Regions from separate parts of the Homo sapiens genome. Here region 1 is linked to region 2. The links are contacts of gene promoters, found by promoter capture Hi-C in blood cells and fetal thymus (Javierre and others, 2016). All regions are on one chromosome and are shown on one strand. The core of a region is centred on a gene start or on the middle of the fragment in contact, and the rest is flanking DNA. Distances in the headings are between cores, read along the strand shown. Region 1 overlaps INKILN (inflammatory MKL1 (MRTFA) interacting lncRNA). Region 2 holds the start of PPBP (pro-platelet basic protein).

Evidence for each region. Contacts are between HindIII fragments. The CHiCAGO score rates a contact against its expected background, and 5 or more counts as called.
Region 1: a contact is called between a fragment that was not itself captured here and the fragment with the promoter of PPBP in region 2, in 2 of 17 cell types (megakaryocytes and M1 macrophages). The highest score is 8.3, in megakaryocytes.

The regions. Positions count from the first base shown.
Region 1 is chr4:73,710,372-73,715,170 of GRCh38, reverse strand. The region is part of intron 1 of INKILN (inflammatory MKL1 (MRTFA) interacting lncRNA); the gene reads left to right. It overlaps UMLILO (upstream master lncRNA of the inflammatory chemokine locus), which reads right to left. Exons shown (of 3, transcript NR_186371.1): 1 at 4,776-4,799; 2 at 1,716-1,834; 3 at 644-1,005. Among named protein-coding and RNA genes, the nearest start is that of UMLILO, 2.4 kb to the right of the region's middle. The HindIII fragment of the contact is 198 bases long and covers 2,229-2,426 here.
Region 2 is chr4:73,985,039-73,989,961 of GRCh38, reverse strand. PPBP (pro-platelet basic protein) reads left to right here and starts at 1,772. Exons shown (of 3, transcript NM_002704.3): 1 at 1,772-2,006; 2 at 2,310-2,445; 3 at 2,588-3,523. The coding sequence starts at 1,859. The coding sequence ends at 2,690. RefSeq lists enhancers at 4,093-4,605, 4,606-4,923. The HindIII fragment of the contact is 3,234 bases long and covers 341-3,574 here.

The sequences.
Region 1 (4,799 bases), core at 1,078-3,577, 280 kb after region 2:
TGGGGTCACTATCAGCTCTAAGTTTGTTTCTATCCAAACGGACATAATTAAACATTAAAATGTTAATTTTACAAATATATTATAAGACTACTTACTTTCTACAGTGAGAATTAAGATCTAGTTTAGTTTTTGATTAATCACTATGTAGAATATAATTCAATAAAGATTTGATATTTGAACATTTCAAGATATTATTTAAATGGCCGTAGTTTCACAAATCCATTCTTAAAACATTTGTTATACTCGAGATATTACTACATAATTTTTTTTAATTTAGAAAATCAAATTCTGAACACAATTTATTTATATGAGCTATCCTATTGACTCAGCAGTTTTCTATTAATTAAGAGTCTTTTGGCTTTCCTGGTTTTCTTTGAGTATAGTATACCTTAAAATAATATTTCTTGGGTATCTGCTGTGTCCTGTGATGACATTCATTGTACAAAAATGTGAAGAAGAAAAATTCCCCCCAGTGGAGCTCATTGCAAGCCCCTCATGACTGTCTTTACTTCTAGCACTTAAGACTGAGTAAGCCCTTTTTTGTCACTGCTGTTTAATCAAACACATTGTTTAATAAGTTAGGTATTTAAAAAACCAATTATTGAACAACGGATATGGGCCAGGTACTATGAAGACTCTTGGGATTAAATATGACTGAGATAAATACAGTTCCTGCCTTTACAGACTATACAGTTTAGTAGACTCAACATTCGCCTCTAATTTAAGATTCTGAAGTTGAAGGCATGTGGATCTATACTTCTTGAGCAGTAATTCAGCATCTCTCTGTCCACTGATCTAAACTGGTGAAAATGGAAGTCACTACAAGTATTCTATGTGAGCAGCTCTTCAGCCTATAGTGAGATTAAGAATTGGCAGGCCTCTGGAATGAAGCAGAATACATTCCCACAGCAAATGTTCACCGTGTACCAACTCTTTACTAGATGATGGGGGTTACAATTTTGGTAGCAGTAGACATATTCTCAGCTCCTCAGAGAGTTTTGCATTCTAGAAGGAGAGATGTTTTAAAAATAAGTAATTAAAAGGTCATGTAAAATAGCACAGATTTCAATAATAGGTTTTCCTCTCTTCTCCCCCAACATAGTGCTGTAAGCACAGCATGACACAATCACCCAGTGAGATTTTACACCTGCCATGGAACCTCATTTAGTGACTGTGGCCTTAGAGAAACTAGTGCTCTATGGAAACTGGATCCGCAAGTCACTAGGATTATTCAAAATGTCTATGTTCAATCTTTGTATTCAACTCCACAGGGAAAGCCTTACGGTCATTTCTCACAAATGCTCTAGTCTTGAGAAAATCTGTAGATGACACATGATGAGTGCATTTCCTGGTAGGCTGAGTGCACCTGTTCACAGGTGTTGTGTGTGGACATCACAAGCCAAAAACAGACAGATCTGATATGCCTGGTTGTGTCTCCAGAATAATTTTCTGTCATTTGATTACGTGATTTGGCCTTGGTTATCTTCAACTAAGAAATGAAGAACTTAGGCCAGAAGAGATAGAAAATTCTGATTCTGCATTTACTTATTCACATCCCTTTCAAACTTTGTTTGGAGGGGTGGCTGAAGACATTGTTTGGGACAAATTCCTATCTCCAGCCTTGGGTCACTTTCATTTTTGAGGGCAAATAAGTAATAGTGTCTCCGTTCATATAAATTGTTTTCTCCAAATTAGCATTTGGAGAAAATACTCACATGGAAGGCACCACAGTAGCAGATACATTTGGGCTGCTCTATCTCCAGTGTTTGAGAGGAGCCATTTCCAACTTGTAGGGTTAATATGCAGACTAAAAAAGATCCACACATAAAGCGCCCTGCAGAGCGTGTCACACAGAGTAAGCATGAAAAATGTCTTGTTCTTTTCCTTTCATCATCCCTCTCTCCTTCTAGCTATCCTTTAATATATAAGATAATTTATTTCTAAAAATTTGATTATGCAACAAAATTCTATGTATTAGATCTGATTTTCTCATTATTACCTTTTATAAAATTATACATAAATTTTATAAGGAAAAATTATTATACATAAATTTTATACATAAAATTCATCCCTCTCTCCTTCTAGCTATTCTTTAATATATAAGATGACTTATTTCTAAAAATTTGGTTATGAAACAAAATTCTATATATTAGATCTGATTTTCTCATTACTACCTTTTATTAAATTATACATAAAAGTTATGAGGCAAAAAGAGTCTATCTTAAGCTTTTATGAAATACCTCTGAGAAGTATTTTATTTTCTCACATTTAAAAAGTTTCATTGTGTTTGAGAAAATGATGTCCTGATATTAGCAGATAAAATGTCTTTATGAAATTATAAATGGGATTACATTTTGCTTTGAGAAGTCCAAAATATATTTTTAAATATTCATTTAAAACTTCATTGTAGAAAATGAAAACAAGCTTTACCTGCAGTGCTGTGCCAGATATTATGCTGTTTTGTACAAATAGCATTTTATTTAACTCATGCAGTAATGCTGTGAAGAAAGTAGCTTATCTGCAACATTTCACGTAGAAGCTTACTTTCTCTTCCTCTTCCTTTGGCTTCCAGGATACTACACATTCCTGAATTTTCTCTACCACCCTGTTGCTGGTTTCTCTGTCATTCTGTTGCTGGTTCCTCCTAGATTTCTAAACAGTAGCCAACTCCAATCCCTTGGAACTGAGACCTCTTTCCTTCTCTACCTATCCCCACTTTTTGTGGCTATAAATATCCTCAAAAGCTGACAATTTGCACATGTGTATGTACAGCCTGGTCTCCTTTGCTGACTCCAGATATGACTATCCAAATGGCTCCTTGACAACTCGCTTGGGCAGCAATAGAAATCTCAAACTTAACTTGTCCAAAATTATATACTCCTCCCAAAGAGTTTTCCATTTCAGTAATCAGTAGCTCCATCTTTCCAGTCTCTCAGCCTAAAACTGCAGTGACATCTTCAACCCCTCTGTGGTTTCTATGGCCTCTTGATTTCCATTCAGTCTGTTTCAGCTACATTGATTTTTTTCCCTTTATCTCACAAGGCGTTGAGTCTTTGCAATAGCTCTTTCCTCTGTTGAAGACTGTTTCCATCTGCTGAAACAGTCTTCTCTCAGATAGCTACCTGACTCCCTCCCTCTCCTGCCTTAGAATTTTTGCTTCTCTGTGAAGGTTTTTTTGACTGTCCTATTTACAATTCTAACTCTCACCATCTTCAGCTCCTCATCTCTTCCTGCAGCAAATACTTCCTTTCACCTTCTCTGCATTATTTTATTCTTTAATACTTGTAAGCATCTGACATACTATATATTTTCCCTTTTCACCAATTTAGTACCTGACTTTCCATGTTCCCCTCCTTCCTACACACACACTAGAATATAAACTTAAGAAGGGCGAAGATTTTGTCAGGTTTTTTTTTTTTTTCACTGCTCTATGCAGTACCTAGAACAGTGCTTGGAACATTCTAGGCATTCAATATATATCTGTTGAAGGAAACCTCATTTCACAGTTGAAGTAATTGCAGCTCAAACCTTGGCCTAGGTGACACTGGGTGTGAATAACGGCTTGAATGACAAAACCCAGTTCTGTCTGTCTCAACACACATCCTGAGCCATCAGCATCATTTTGCTGTTAATATTTTCTATGTATGTATGTATTTATGTATCTATCTATCTAGTCGGTATCAACTGACTCAAGACTTGAATATATCCAACTGCCAACATGATATCTCACTGGGGAAATAATAGATATCTCACATTAACCTGTCCAAAATCAAGTGTGTTAATTTTCATTAGCGGACAAACAGTTCTGAGAACTAGAGGCTACCAATGGCCCTTCTCTTAGAAGTGTTAGGATCCCTGCTCTGGGAAAGGACAGGACAGGACCAGAGTTCCTTTCTCATGGCCCCAAGTGACTTAGTGTTCCCCTTGCCCTCCTGCCATGAAGCTCATGACTGTGCATGCCATATGCCTCATTTTTCCAAGAAGTCTTGTTTGCACATTCTTAATGCTTTGAAGAAACAGTATGCATATACGAATTAAATTCTAGGTAGGAACGATCTATGAACTGCAGAGTATGTTGTTAGAGGTTTCATCAGTGTTTGGAAAATCTTCCTCTTTATACGGGGCCAGTGCAGTGGCTCACACCTGTAATCCCAGGACTTTGGGAGGCCAAGGCAGGCGGATCACATGAGGTCAGGAGTTCAAGACCAACCTGGCCAATATGGTGAAAGCCTGTCTCTACCAAAAATACAAAAAAATTAGCTGGGCCTGGTGGTGGGAGCCTGTAATCCTAGCTACTTGGGAGGCTGAGGTGGGAGAATCGATTGAACCCAGGAGGCAGAGGTTGTAGTGAGCCAAGATGGCACCACTGCACTCCAGCCAGGGCAACAGAGGGAGAATCCATCTCAAATAAATAAATAAATAAATAAATAAAGAAGACATATGGGACAGTACACATCCATTTTTTATTATAAATTAAGACTTTACAAGATAAAAATGAAAGCATAAATGTTAAAGTTGGAGGACTAATAAAAGCCTAGAATGCTTATGTTGTAACAATTTTAAAAATATGCACAGTAAATCTTTAAAAGAGCTGCACATATATTTATGTCATACTAATTAAATTTATAACTCAGAGGGACAGAGTAGAATTGTGGTTAAGAGTGTGGCTTTAAATCCCAATTCTACTACCTACTCCTATGTGATCTTGGACAAGTTGCTTAACCTCTCTGCATTCAGTTACTAATCCATAAAACTGAGATAAAAAGAGCACTTACCTGGAGTGTTGCTGCGAGAATTTG
Region 2 (4,923 bases), core at 523-3,022:
ACTATTAAACAATAGGGAAAATTGGCTTGAAAACAAAAACATGATTTAAAAAATTACTATATTCATCTTTTTGATAGAGAGTAATTTTGAACATTTAGTATTTTAAGCATTTCTTCTAAAATTTAAGGATATGAAAAGTAAGAAAAGAATATGGAAAATTTAAATAATATTCTGTGAGACTTATACATAGTTGTAAAAGGAAGAAAACTTGTTGCCAGTGCCACTTACATCTGCCTCTTCTTTATTGACAATCTTCCAAATAAATTTAAATAGCATAGTTGCTTTGGGTCCTGTCGAGTTTGGCCTGGAATTGTAGGTGATTAGAAAGGATAGGGAAGCTTTCATGTGATACGTATTCATTGATTTATTAATTATTTAAGACCTACTTTATATTGAAGTATCCTACATGTTATAGGATACATGAGACATTCAAACAAACACAGGACATGCCACTCCCTACAAAAGTGCATGGTTCAATTGAGGAAGGAAGTCTTACAGATGGGACAGAGAACCAGAAAATAACATAAAGCCAACATGTAATGTGTAGGTCCACCTCTCTATCTTTGTAGGGATATAGCATTTCAGACCAAAACCTTTAATTTGGGTCTGAGAATTCAGGAACAAATATTTTCCTTGGTAAGGACATTTCTTGCACAATTTCTAATAGTGCAAAATTGGAAACACCGTGAAGGGCACCAACAAGGCAAGGTTGAGTAACTATTGTTCTTATCACAGGACGTCACATGGTCATTAAGAAGAATGGGGGAAAACTACATTAAGATGACCTGAAAAGATAAGGAACACATATTTTTTGAAGGATAAAAGTCAGCTGTATAGTGATCCATATACAATACTTCTATGTATATGTGTACCTCTATGTCTTAAACGTGTCTCATTGTATACATATACATGTGTGCATATAAGTGCAGACAGAATTGAAAACTAATGCAAAATTGTTACCAGTGTTTACCACTGAATAGTAGGAATGTGGAGAAATGATGAAGAGAAATTTGTGTTTTATTTCAAAGACATCTGCAGCATACGAATCTTTTGCAATAAATTATATAATTTTTCTGTTAAATTAAAAATAAAAAGAAAAATAAATATGCTGGGTCCTACTTTTTAGGTATTCTTAGGTGGTAGAAACAAGTAGCTTCTTTTGTAATATAAAGGAGGATGAGTTTCATTTGTAGTTTCTAGATGAAATTACAAAAGATAATATAGATTGAAGGCAGAAAGAATCCAATAAGCTAAAATCCAAAGACAACCTTTGACGGTAATTGGCTCTTATTTTACTTACATGCTCCAAACCAATCCCAATATTTATCAACATTCATGAAAAGAACATTTGCTTTCTTTGGCAAGCAAAGATAACTTTCTCTTTCAAGGGCCACATGTTTGTGCCTTCAGGTGCTCCTAAAGTTTCTATTAAGCCTAAAAACTGCAGTATAGAAAAGGCAGGGCGTATTGTTATAAATCATACAAAGAAAATGCATGTAGTATTTCAGTCTAGTTCTTACCTTCCTGAACGGAGTTCTTACACAGGTGTAAGGAAGATAAGTATTGAGAAAGGGAGAGTGGGAATGTGAAGTGATGCACATTAAGCAAGTTAGTAGGAATTTGACCTGTCTGGTCTTTCTCTGGGTTGGGCACAGCTTCAAATGCTTATGTGTGTATCACCACATACCCTCACTTCCTCCTTTCCTACCTCTTCCTTCTTACTGGCTTTGAGAAAGAGCATATAAATGACATCTTCAGGGCATGAGAAGCCACTTATCTGCAGACTTGTAGGCAGCAACTCACCCTCACTCAGAGGTCTTCTGGTTCTGGAAACAACTCTAGCTCAGCCTTCTCCACCATGAGCCTCAGACTTGATACCACCCCTTCCTGTAACAGTGCGAGACCACTTCATGCCTTGCAGGTGCTGCTGCTTCTGTCATTGCTGCTGACTGCTCTGGCTTCCTCCACCAAAGGACAAACTAAGAGAAACTTGGCGAAAGGCAAAGGTAGAGGCCCTGCTTCTCTGCACTTGTTGCTGCTTCTGCTACACCTGTCTCTGGGGTAAAGACTAGCTTGGTGCCTTTGGGGCTGGAGAGGGCCATTATACCAATAACTCCAATTGGAGGAGACACACAGGGGGGTCACTTCTCACTTCTTGTGTGCTGGGCAATCTTCTGGGCACTTTACTAAAGCGTTACAGATCATATTCACAATGGCTTTATGAGAGAGGTACAATTGCCCTCAATCTGCAAATAAGAGACCTGAGGAAAATATTCATGACCACCAATAGGTCACATTTTCTACCCTAGAGGAAAGTCTAGACAGTGACTTGTATGCTGAACTCCGCTGCATGTGTATAAAGACAACCTCTGGAATTCATCCCAAAAACATCCAAAGTTTGGAAGTGATCGGGAAAGGAACCCATTGCAACCAAGTCGAAGTGATGTAAGTTGCTGTTTCTGTGCTATTGCCTTATCAGAGAAACCCTCTACCTCCATCCACATATGCACTCGTTTCCTCCAGTCTCATGGATTAGTTCTGATATTCAGATCAGGACACCCACAGATAACCCTGTTCTCTTTTGCAGAGCCACACTGAAGGATGGGAGGAAAATCTGCCTGGACCCAGATGCTCCCAGAATCAAGAAAATTGTACAGAAAAAATTGGCAGGTGATGAATCTGCTGATTAATTTGTTCTGTTTCTGCCAAACTTCTTTAACTCCCAGGAAGGGTAGAATTTTGAAACCTTGATTTTCTAGAGTTCTCATTTATTCAGGATACCTATTCTTACTGTATTAAAATTTGGATATGTGTTTCATTCTGTCTCAAAAATCACATTTTATTCTGAGAAGGTTGGTTAAAAGATGGCAGAAAGAAGATGAAAATAAATAAGCCTGGTTTCAACCCTCTAATTCTTGCCTAAACATTGGACTGTACTTTGCATTTTTTTCTTTAAAAATTTCTATTCTAACACAACTTGGTTGATTTTTCCTGGTCTACTTTATGGTTATTAGACATACTCATGGGTATTATTAGATTTCATAATGGTCAATGATAATAGGAATTACATGGAGCCCAACAGAGAATATTTGCTCAATACATTTTTGTTAATATATTTAGGAACTTAATGGAGTCTCTCAGTGTCTTAGTCCTAGGATGTCTTATTTAAAATACTCCCTGAAAGTTTATTCTGATGTTTATTTTAGCCATCAAACACTAAAATAATAAATTGGTGAATATGAATCTTATAAACTGTGGTTAGCTGGTTTAAAGTGAATATATTTGCCACTAGTAGAACAAAAATAGATGATGAAAATGAATTAACATATCTACATAGTTATAATTCTATCATTAGAATGAGCCTTATAAATAAGTACAATATAGGACTTCAACCTTACTAGACTCCTAATTCTAAATTCTACTTTTTTCATCAACAGAACTTTCATTCATTTTTTAAACCCTAAAACTTATACCCACACTATTCTTACAAAAATATTCACATGAAATAAAAATTTGCTATTGACTTGTTGTCATCTATTATTAATTTTAACAGGATTGTTGGGGAAAAAAAGCTTTAATTTTCCTCTCTTTTTTGTATACTTGGTATTTCACAGTTTGAACAACAAAAGTTACTAAATTGATGATCGGTGTCATTCTTAATGTAGTATGATAACAGTTCCAATTTATTAATCATTTTAATATGCCAGGAATACTAAGTGTTTTCCATGCATGAACTAAACAATTTTTTAAAAGATAGATATGATCTGGTTAAAAGAACATCCTCTGGAGTTTGAATAATGAGGTAACCTGGCTCTGCCACTTGTTAGCTGTGTATATCAGGTCATGTTGCTTAATTTCTCTGTACCTTAGGTTCTTCATCCCTAAAATGGGGATAATATTGCCTCCCTCATAGAGTTTATGGAAGGATTAAAAAAGTTAATAAATTTAAGGTATTTAAAATAATGTGTGTCATAAATAAGCCACACATAAATGTTAGTAATTATTTCTTATGATTATTATTATCCTCCCCAGTGTTACAGAAGAGAAAAATCAAGTTTATAGAGTTTAAAATACTTGCCCACTTTCAGATAACTAAGTAGGTAACAGAGTGGGAATTTCAAATTGTGCTCTTAACCACCACACCACAGTGCTTTCCTCAACTCTTCTTTCTCTAATGAAGAGATTACATTACATATAACATAGTATTATTCACACATGTAATACAACTTGATACATAAATAGCATACTGTATATACTATAATAATTATAGGGTATCAGGCATCTCACTCATTATGTTTAGTGGTTTCCCACTGAAACTTGACAAGACCAGCTCCTGAGACATGGCACAGTGTTGACACCATGCTTATACCTCCCGAGATGCAGATGTCTTCTGTTTTTGAGTGCATGTATTGAGTTACTCTGTTTACATGCAGAGAAAGAATGATTCAGTTGCCACTCAGGACCACCTGGATTCCTTTACACTGCAAACATTAAAATCTGGGTGTAAGACTGTAAAAACCCAGCGTGTTGCCCATCCATATGCAAAATCATCCCTCCCCTTCATTCTCTCTGCTGTTAACTCAGAAGGGGCTTCAAGTTTCAGGTTCATAAACACATATGAATTACAAAACATTCTGCAACAGCCATTGTGTTGGATACAGGATATTCAAAAATACAGTCATGTTTTGCTTAACAATTGGGATACATTCCGAGAAATGCATCATTAGGTGATTTTGTCATTGTGTGAACATCACAGGGTGTGCTTACACAAACCTAAATGGTATAGCCTACTACAAACCTAGGCTATATAGTACAGCCTATTGCTCCTAGGCTATAAGCCTGTACAGCATGTTACAGTGCTGAATACCATAGGAAGTTGTAACACAATGGTGAATATCTGAGTATCTAAACATCTGTAAATGT